Linked DNA regions of Homo sapiens: all the other regions are linked to region 2. The links are contacts of gene promoters, found by promoter capture Hi-C in human tissues and cell types (Jung and others, 2019). All regions are on one chromosome and are shown on one strand. Each heading gives the region's core, a stretch centred on a gene start or on the middle of the fragment in contact. The rest is flanking DNA. Distances are from core to core; before and after follow the strand shown. Region 1 has its middle 12 kb from the start of SEC11C. Region 2 holds the start of RAX (retina and anterior neural fold homeobox). Region 3 has its middle 55 kb from the start of LMAN1.

Region 1 (3,466 bases), core at 753-3,252, 150 kb after region 2:
AGGATGTCTTTGGAAAAGGTATGTGACAAATCTCTCAAAATGGGTGCAAATTATGAAGATATTTGTGTCCCAAGTGAATGCTTATCAAATGCATATCATACAAAGGAGGCTATTAATAACCAGGTGAACAAAATTATATTCTCCATGGATATCAATCAGCCTCTTTCCTCAGCCATCCAAGTACTTGCTCAATATTCCTGTAACTAAATTGGACATGGTATCAAGATAGAGGTTATGTGTGGGCCAAAATATGGCCTCTCCTTCTCCAAAGCTGACCTGAATAATGCCACTGCTGATTGCCTACTCTGCAGATAGCAGAGACTGACATTGAGCCCCAAAATGGCAAATTTTTTTGGTTGGGCTAACCAGCCAGCTGGTCACAGGTGTTGATTACATTGGATATTTTCTATCATGGAGAGGGAAGAGATTTGTTCTCACTGAAATAGATACATATCCAAATATGGATATGCCTTCTCTGCATCAAATGCTTCTGCTAGCACCACCATCTGTGGACTCACAGCATTCCTTACCCATCGTCATGGCATTACATGCAGCATCACTATTGCTTCTGATCAAGGAACTAATTTCACAGCAAAGAACATATTCAGCATTGGTTCATGCCTATGTAATAAACTGCTTTTATTACATACCTCATCACTCATAAGCAGCTGGCCTGATTGAAAAGTCGGAGGGCTCCCTGAAGCTTTGATAATGATATCAATTTGGAGATAATTCTAAAAATTTTAGTTTTGTCTTATAGAATGCAGTATATGCTTTCAATTGATAACAATTATGTAGTGCTGTTTCCATAACCAGAACACATGAGTCCAGAAATAAAAAAGTGGAAATGAGATTGGTTCCTCTCAATATTATACCCGGTAATGTACTCTCAAAAATTTGCTTCCCATCTTGGCAACCTTAAGCTCTGCTAGTTGGCAATCTTATTCCCCAAGGGGAAATGCTCCTGCTAGGGACACAGCAATGGCTCCATCAAATTGGCAGATGAAACTACCCTCGAGCCCCTTGGGCTCCTTATACACTGAATCAGAAAGCAGAAAAATGGCTGGAATAATTGATTCTGATTACTAAAAGAAAATCGGATTGCTACTACAAAATGGGGCCAAGGAGAGCTCTATCTGAAACTCAGTGGGTACTCTAGGATGTCTTTTAGTTCTTTCATGTTCAATAAAAAATGGCTACAGCAGCCAAAAATTTCTTTAAAAGACAGAACTACTGAGGACTCAGACCTTTGAAAAACAAAGTTTTTGGTTACTTCACCATATAAACAATAATTATCAGCCAAGTTGCACGCTGAAATAAGGGAACTATAGAATGGGTAGTGGTAGAATAAAATCATCACCTTGACCTTGTGGCCAATTATAGAAATGAGGGCTATATTACAGCTGCATATTTTTTTATTTGCCTATTATATGTACATATTAATTTGCATGTTATAACCATTTTGTTCTTCTTCCTCCTACCTATTATCCATTTATATGCAAGTTCTTGGATGTTAACTTTATAATTTAGTCTTTAGGTAACAGAATATTCAGTGGAACTGTGACTGAATTTAAAAAATAAATAATATAGCCAGCAAGGATACAATGACTGGGACTGCATATGTCCTCATTTTGGAGAAAGTGAGAACTTTTTCACTTATTCAAAGGTTAGCTGCTGCTTGTTCATTGGAAATATAGAGTTGTTTAATTGTTGTCCAGAAGTTCAAACATGTATAGGAGGATGCATATGGAAGCTGATTAGCTAAATGAGCGACCTGTGCCTTTGAACAATTATGACCTCTCTCCAAATCTACCCTTCCTTGCCCTGCTTTGTGATACAGAGCTGAACCCTGTGAACTTTCTCCATTGCCAGCTGACACAATGTTAAGCTTTGCCAATAGAGAGCACTAGGGGGACACCAGAGGAGGACAGGCTCTCGTGTGCCTTTTCCCCTGTTCCTGTGGTATGTAGATACCTGTGGTATTTAGATACCAGTGGCACGCGTGATTCCCAGTGCTGCTCACCCTCCAGCAAGTCACAATGTTTGCACAGCGGTTGGCTGCCCTTTGAGTTTCACCAGTGCCGTGGATGGTCTTCCAGTGCATCTCACTGGCACTTCTGTGGGCAGTTTCCTGCTTGCCATCCTAGCCCGTCACACCTCAGAGAACTTCTCTACCATCCAGGGGACCACAGCCACAGCTTCGAAATCTAATCTCAGACATCAGGAGGCAGATCCTCTTTCAAGTTTGTTCTGTTCTTGGGTATACTGCTTCAGCCCTATAAGTCGTGGCTACTCCCTGTATCTGCTAGTCCTGTATTCTTTAGAGTTCTCTTTACTCCCTAAGTAGTTAATCCACTGTTATTAGTTGCTAGTTATTAACATGTTAAATTTTCTTTGTTCAAATTACTGGTGTGATCTTTGTCTCTTGACTGCACCCTGACTGGTATAACTAATCATTGAAGAGGCTACTCCAACCACCAAATACAATATCTGACTTAATAAGCTGGGTGGGTTTTTTTCATATAGTCACACAAGTAACACATAAATATTCCCATGGAAAACCCAGATTACAGACAAATGAAATCTCCCTTCACCCCACTCCACTCTCAATGCAATCCAAGTTATTTCCCAGTGTTGGAAGTATGCTGTGTGTCCTTCCAGATCTAGCCCCTCTCCCTTCTTATTAATTTGTTTCTACTTGTTGCTTTTGAAACAATGTTATGATGTGGGGTGGGGTGGGGGGTGTCTTGGCAGTTTTGTAAGATAAAATTCCTAGAAATTGGATCACTTAGCCAAACAGCATTAACATTTAAATTTTAAATTTCCCTCCAGAAAGGCTAAACTAAATTCTAATCCCACACAATAAGATTTTAGCCAGTCACAGCAGCCCATGTCTGTAATCCCAGCACTTTGGGAGGCTGAGGTGGGCAGATCACTTGAGGTCAGGAGCTCGAGACCAGCCTGGCCAACATGGTGAAACTCCATTTCTACTAAAAATACAAAAATTAGCCAGGCACGGTGGCATGCACCTGTAATTCTAGCTACTTGGGAGGCTGAGGCAGGAGAATCACTTGAACCCAAGAGAGCCAAGATCGCGCCACTGCACTCCAGCCTGGGTCACAGAGCACGACTCCATCTCAAAAAAAAAAAAAAAAAAAAAGATTTTAGACAGTCAAGCTATGTGAAACTTAGAAGGTACCATAGAAATCACATGGGTAAAACTTTTTCACCTAACTGATGGTGAGCTAAGGCTCAGAGAGAGAAATGACTTTTCAATGTCATACAAATAACTAAATCTGGAAGGCAGGGGGAAACTTACGTTGTTGGACTAGGCTTTAAGGAATTACATTCAAAATAATGGTTCCATATTTAAGTCTTGTTGACCCAAAGCAAAGTGGATAACTGAGGCAACTCTTAATATAACCACTCTTCCAACAGCCCTATATTTCCAACAAAATGATCTATG
Region 2 (3,626 bases), core at 1,127-3,626:
CCACCTGGTCTATGTCACTGGCAGTCAGACCTTTTCGGGTGCCACCAGGCCATTTGTGGGCCCTGGAAAGGTGGAGGAGGGGCGGAGGAGGAGGCAAAACCTGGTCTGTCAGGGGACTTTCCAGAGGGTTTGTTAATTTGCCCTGGATGCCGGTACCCAAAGCCCACTCTCTATAGGCTCTGACTTTATTTCTTCTGGGAGCTAAACTGCTTCTACCTCCGCCTCTTAGATGCAGAATCCAGTCTCAGGGAAGGATTAAAGACAGACTGCAGGCTAAGATGGGCTTTGATTCTTTTCAAAAAGATCACACACTACAATAATAATTACAAATGAGCTGCAGGCAGAAAACACTGGACAAGGAGTCAGTGGCCTGAGTTCTAGTCCTGACCCTTCCACTTAATAGCTGTATCACTTTGAGCCTCAGTTTCCTCTTCTGTAAAATGGGGACCAATATGTCTGTCCTGCTCACCTCACAAGGTTGTGAAGATCAGATGACATGAAGAATGTGAGAAGATTCTGAAACCTACAAAGTGACATGTCGAGAGAATTGCTTGAGCCCAGGAGTTCCAGGCTGCAGTGAGCCACCATCATGCCACTGCACTCCAGCCTGGGCAACAGAGAGGGACCCTGTCTCTAAAATAAACAGACAAATAAATAATAAGTAAATAAAGTAATATGTGAACACTGTAAAGTGCTATTAACTTTCATTAATTTTAGCTTTTTTCTTAAAAGATAATTTCTGACTTGAATTAGTTCAATTTCTATCTCCTGCAGTCACATGCTTGCCCTTATTTTAGTTTGCCATTATATAGTTTTATTAAAAGTAGATATGCCCATCATGGGGAATTAACCATTGAATGATCCTTAAGAAATTGACTTGTCCTCCGCAAACATCCTTCTAACACCAATTTAAAGGTTGGGGATCTGAGGATGTGTGTTTTCCCTCTTCCTTTGTCTTGTCTTCCAGACTGGACGTTAAACTCCACCAGGCCAACGGCCCTGGCCTTTCCCAATTTGTTTGATGCCCACGACGTGGCCCTCGACGGTTGCCTTGCCCTCTAAAGGGACGCAGCAAACGCTTGTCTGAACGCAAGCGGGATAAAGAAGACACCCCTGCTGTGGAGATCAGAGCGCCTACTGAAAAGGAGATTTTAGGGATATTGTCCTCTAGGTCCTTGAGCTTTTATAGGAAAGCATTTTAATTCACGGTTCAGGCCACCAGTTCAGGGAAGGCCAAGCGCTCGCCTCGGGTCTCGCCTCAGATTTGAGGGGTGAGACGTTCACAGCGCCATTGTCCATCCGCGCTGCTGGAGGTGAAACACACTCACCCTATCCAATCATCTTTCCAAGTGGCCGATCAGTCACTGTGGGCCACGGAAGCCTCGAGGGGGTCCAAAGGAGAAAGAACTGCAAGCCAATTACTCCTGAACCCTCGGGGAGGCGAGAGGCCTCTTCCCCGGGAGAAGGTCCTTCCCCAGCCAGCTCTGGGCCATCTCCTTGGCCCGGAGTGTTGGAGGGAGGCGGGAGTGCGACACCGCTGCTCATCAGTAAAGGAGCCCGCCCTCCCCGCAGGACAAGGGGCGGGAGCGAGGAACTCCAGGTGGGTCTCCTGCGGGACCTGAGCCCGGCAGCACATCCGACTCGGGGCTCCCAGTCTCCTGCTGGGCGATCGGGCGCTAGAGGTCACCGGACTTGCGGACATAAATGGCCCTGGGGTGGGCGCTGCGGGGAAGGAGGGAGGCTGCCGGCGCTCAAGTCCGAGGGGACTGGGAGGAGTTACAACAGATATAGACGGACAAACTAAACGCGAGGTCCGGGACTTCGTACAACCCAGCCAAGAAAGGAGTGGGTCCCGAAAAGGGAGCCAGCGAGGGGAAATTCAAACTGCGACGAGTGCGGGGCTGGGAAGCCTTCGGCTGGGTCTCGGCGCTTCCAGGGGGCACAGGCCAGGGTGGCGGCCCCGCGGAGGTGAGCCAGAGGGGGCTAGAGGGGCGAGTCTGAAGCTGGGGAGGGGTGCGTCCAAGGAGGGAGGTGACCCCCAGGGGGTAGTCTGAAGTGAGAGGGTAAGCCCGAAGTAGAGGGAGACAAACGCAAGGGGAGAGATGAGCCCAAGGGCGTCGGCCCCACTGAGGCAGGACTAGGGGTGCGCCGCGACCAGGTTCCCGAGCCCATCAGGCATCCCGCCGCGGATCCCCGGAGTGTGTTTGTAAAGCTTAAAACGGATCAAGAGGTGGAAGGGGAATATTCCTAGTGCCGGCCCAGGGGTGGCCACTAGAGGACCCTGTGGCTGGGCCGGGTGAGGACACGCCCCTCTGTGGAGGGAGGGGCCGAGAGAAGGGGCTGGGTCCAGGGCGAGAGGGGAGGAGCCGAGGGCCAGTTGGCTCCCCGCCTTTAGCGCCGAGAGCCCCAGCTACCCCGAGCCCGAACTTCCGACTTCTGGGACTAAGGCGGCAGCGGGCTGAGCGCTCGGCCACCCCCAGCGTGCGCAGCCCGGGCGGGCTTCGCCCGCGGAGCTTGACCTAGGGTCGGGACCCGTCGGGTTGCACCGCCGCACTCGGGAAGACCCGGCTTCGAGCCTCTCCTCTCCGTCTCCAAAGCGCCCTCCCGCCTCCCGGCGCTCCCCATGCACCTGCCGGGCTGCGCGCCAGCCATGGCCGACGGGAGCTTCTCGCTTGCCGGCCACCTGCTCCGCAGCCCGGGCGGGAGCACCTCGCGACTTCACAGCATCGAGGCCATCCTGGGGTTTACCAAGGACGACGGGATCCTCGGCACCTTCCCGGCGGAGCGGGGCGCCCGGGGCGCGAAGGAGCGGGATAGGAGGCTGGGCGCGCGGCCCGCCTGCCCCAAGGCGCCCGAGGAAGGCTCCGAGCCCTCCCCGCCGCCAGCCCCGGCGCCCGCCCCCGAGTACGAAGGTGAGTGCGCACCCCTGGCTGTGCGAGGCCGTTCGGGCGCCCGAGCTTAGGAGTTGGCCAGACGAGAGCGCCCCTTCCTTAACTTTTATTAAGGCAACTGGGCGCGGGGTTGGGGACCGTCTATGGCGGGAGCTTCCAATTTGCATTCAGAGAAAGCTTAGGACCCATCGCCGCCCTCACCACGGACCTCCCCGGGCCATCTCGGAGCCCGCAGGCGGGCTGGCCAGTGCCCACAGCGAGGCGGGGTCGGCCCAAGGGTGTTTTGGGGAGTGCATCTGACCCTCCCGGGCCTCGTCGCCCCAGCCCCTCGACCCTACTGCCCCAAGGAGCCCGGGGAGGCACGGCCGAGCCCAGGGCTGCCCGTCGGGCCAGCCACCGGCGAAGCGAAACTGTCAGAGGAGGAACAGCCCAAGAAAAAGCATCGGCGGAACCGCACGACTTTCACCACGTACCAGCTGCATGAGCTGGAGCGCGCGTTCGAGAAGTCCCACTACCCGGACGTGTACAGCCGCGAGGAGCTGGCCGGCAAGGTCAACCTACCAGAGGTCCGGGTCCAGGTAAAGCGCCCAGGTTGAGGAACTGGGATCTGGGAGGGCCCGAGGCCCAAATTGCAGCCAATGCTTCTCGGAATTCACGGGTGTCCATGCATTTATTACTGTCCTTCCTCGACTTGGCATGCCCAGAGTCTCAAGGGAGAGGCACAGATCTTCGATG
Region 3 (3,341 bases), core at 607-3,106, 140 kb before region 2:
GCTCACGCCTGTAATCCCAGCACTTTGGGAGGCCGAGGCGGGCGGATCACCTGAGGTCAGGAGTTTGAGACCAGCCTGGCCAACATGGTGAGACCTGATTTCTACTAAAAATACAAAATTAACTGGGCATGGTGGTGAATGCCTGCAATCCCAGCTGCTTTCGAGGCTGAGGCAGGAGAATCGCTTGAACCCGGGAGGTGGAGGTTGCAGTGAGCTGAGATCACACTACTGCACTCCAGCCTGGGTGACAAGAGTAAAACTTCTTCCAAAAAAAAAAAAGAGACGTTAGCCCTCAGCCCTGCAGTTATCAAATGTGTGTGTGCCCATCAGAAACACCTGGCCAGGTGCAGTGGCTCAAGCCTGTAATCTCAGCATTTTGGGAGGCTGAGGTGGGCAGATCACCTGAGGTCAGGAATTCAAGACCAGCCTGGCCAACATGGTGAAACCCTGTCTCTACTAAAAATACAAAAATTAGCCGGGCATGGTGGCCCATGCCTGTAATCCCAGCTACTCGGGAGAATGAGGCAGGAGAATCACTTGAACCCAGGAGGTGGAGGTTGTAGTGAGCCAAAATTTCGCCACTGCACTCCAGCCTGGGCGGCAGAGTGAGACGCCATCTCAAAAAAAAAAAAAAAAGAATCACCTGGAAAGATGGTTAAAATAGATTGCTGGCTCCACCCCCAGCGTGTGAGATTCAGTACATCTTGGGGGTAGAACTGGAACATTTGCCTCTCTAACAAGTTCTATGAACAATACATTGAGAACCTCTGTATTAGACTTGAAATATAAATAATATGTAGGAGGCTCCCTTTCATATTCATCCTCTCTTTGACCAGGGGGAAAGTGTAACCTGACAATAAAAACATGTGCCAATGTACTCATCCAGAAATAGAATTGAGGAAGAGAAGGGAGATGAAGAGAGAAAGAATGCTGCAGAATGCGTCTCATTTTAAAAAGCAGTGACAGTGGGAGGAAAACAGTTCTTGCCAGGAGCACAGCCAGCGGGGCACAGGCAGGCCTGTGGAAGGCAAGGCATGAAGTTGGAGGGGAAGGAGGAGTTTGGGGAAAGAAGCTAGGTTTTGCTGTGCTGTTGTGAAAAAGGTGGGCGGAAAAGTGTAAAATCAAGTTTTTTTAATGGCATGCTTCAACGAATCTCCGTCCTAGTATTTGAGAACCGAGTTACTGTGAAACCATGTTTTGGCAGAAGCAAACACAAATCCTCTCTGTAAAATGTGCCACTTGAAAAATTAGCACATGCATCCAGGCTTTATAAGCATCAATCTGCTTAAGTCAATCAAGCGACTAAGTAAAATATATTATTACGTTCAGATCTTATGTGTGGGCAGATAGTCTTCATTCTATAGCTCTGTAATTTGCTGGTGGGATAAAGAGTTATTGGAGGATTCTCTCAAACTTTTAAAAAATATGTCAGGGGAAAGAAAACAAATTTGAATCTTTCCAAATTTATATTAGGGTCTCACCAGTTCAGGCAGTATACACAGTACTGCTAAATATTTTCTTTTTTTTAACATAGAATTCCTGCCAGGATTATATTTTGTTTAGTTTTCATCACCTTCATATCTTGTGCTTTTTTTAAGATGAGGAATATTTGACAGATTTACTCAAAAATGTTGGTCACATTAAACCAATAATTTGAAATTCTTGTTTCTTTCCAAGGAGAAATCATGTGGACTTCTACCTTGGTCTTACATCAAAAGTGGTTCCCATTTCCAGGTATATTTTGGACTAAATATTCACAAAAACTCATTCTTTTAATGAAGCTTAACATGATGATTAAAATTTTAAAAACATATTTTTAGATGCATGGTTGACTTGACGGGAAACTAAGGGGATTATTTGGAGGTCAGAGATGCCTGTAATCCCAGCTACTTGGGAGGCTGAGGCAGGAGAATCACTTGAACCCGTGAGGCGGAGGTTGCAGTGAGCTGAAATCATGCCACTGCACTCCAGCCTGGGCAACAGAGTGAGACTCAGTCAAAAAAAAAAAAAAAAAAAAGAAAGAAAGAAAGGAAAGAAAGAAATGACAAATCCAAAGAGGCCAGTAGGAACTTGAGTTGGTATTTACCACTGCATGTCTGCTAGTCCCTTGTTATTTGGAGCCACCATTTAAATAGACATGTACATGTGTCTATGTACATGTAAATGTACGTGTGGACTGGAAAGAAAGCTTGGGACAAAACAGGGATGTTATGAGTTGAATTGTGTTTCCCAAAATTCGTATGTTGAAATTCCAGCCCACAGTACATCAGAATATGACCTTTTTTGGAAATGGGGTTATTAAAGATGTAATGAGTTAATTTGAGGTCATTTAGGGTGGACTCTAATGTATGTAATGTAATGACTGGTGTCCTTATGAAAAGGGGAAAATATGGACACAGAATGTAAAGATGAAGGCGGAGATTGGGGTGATGCCATCACACCAATGAATACTAGAGATCGCCTGCAAACCTCCAGAAGCCAGGGGAGAGCATGGGACATCCCTCAGAAGGAACCAACTCTGCCAACGCCTTGATTTTGGACTTCAAGCCTCCAGAACTGTGAGATGATAAGTTTCTGCTGTTTAAGCAACCTAATTTGTGGCACTTTGTTATCCCAACCCTAGGAACCAAAATAAAGGAGGAAACTGGATTTAAGTCTTAATCCAAAGTCTGGATACTCAAAGTACAACATGCTCAATGGGTGAGTAGGGGTGAAAACATCCACAGAGGAGCCAGTGAATCCATAGGCATCACCAGCCTGACTTGAAACAACTTCTGTGACCTCAAATGGTCTGCAATGAAAATTTAGTTTCAAATAATCCCAGGCTGATAGTGTTCCCAGGCACCTGGCAGAAGCAAACACAAATCCCTCTGGATGCACATACTTTAAACTCAGGCCTCCAAGAAAAGTCTCACGGATACATTTCCAAGAAACATGAGCCCCTCGTCAAAAATCATTAAACATAGCAAAAAAAAGGAGTAAGAGTTGACGGAAGCAATAAAGTGCTGAAATGAACTGCAAAGAATGCAAATATGGAATTATTGGATACACCATCGACAATAAGTATGTTTAATACAATTTAAGAAAAAAAGGCATTGAAAAAAAGCAAGGAACATGGAACTATCAAATTTGATCAGACAGATTTGGAAGAGGACCGAAAACACTTCTCTAAATGAAAACTATAATTATTATTTTTAAATGAAGTGAATGGTTTAAACAGCAGGTAAGATACAGTAGAATTGGTGAACTGGAAAATGGATTTGAAGGAAAGTAAATTGAAGACCAGGAGGCAAAGATGAAAAATATGAAGGAAGAGACATATGGAACAATATGACAAGGAT

Evidence for each region. Contacts are between HindIII fragments. The study calls those that stand out against the background at their distance.
Region 1: a contact is called between a fragment that was not itself captured here and the fragment with the promoter of RAX in region 2, in 2 of the 25 tissues and cell types used here (mesendoderm cells and thymus).
Region 3: a contact is called between a fragment that was not itself captured here and the fragment with the promoter of RAX in region 2, in 3 of the 25 tissues and cell types used here (H1 embryonic stem cells, heart left ventricle and mesendoderm cells).

What each region holds. Positions count from the first base shown.
Region 1 is chr18:59,125,706-59,129,171 of GRCh38, reverse strand. No RefSeq gene overlaps it. Among named protein-coding and RNA genes, the nearest start is that of SEC11C, 12 kb to the left of the region's middle. The HindIII fragment of the contact is 3,708 bases long and covers 149-3,466 here.
Region 2 is chr18:59,272,204-59,275,829 of GRCh38, reverse strand. It overlaps RAX (retina and anterior neural fold homeobox), which reads left to right and starts at 2,376. Exons shown (of 3, transcript NM_013435.3): 1 at 2,376-2,912; 2 at 3,216-3,469. The coding sequence starts at 2,624. The HindIII fragment of the contact is 4,384 bases long and covers 1-2,640 here.
Region 3 is chr18:59,412,121-59,415,461 of GRCh38, reverse strand. No RefSeq gene overlaps it. Among named protein-coding and RNA genes, the nearest start is that of LMAN1, 55 kb to the right of the region's middle. The HindIII fragment of the contact is 5,733 bases long and covers 1-3,341 here.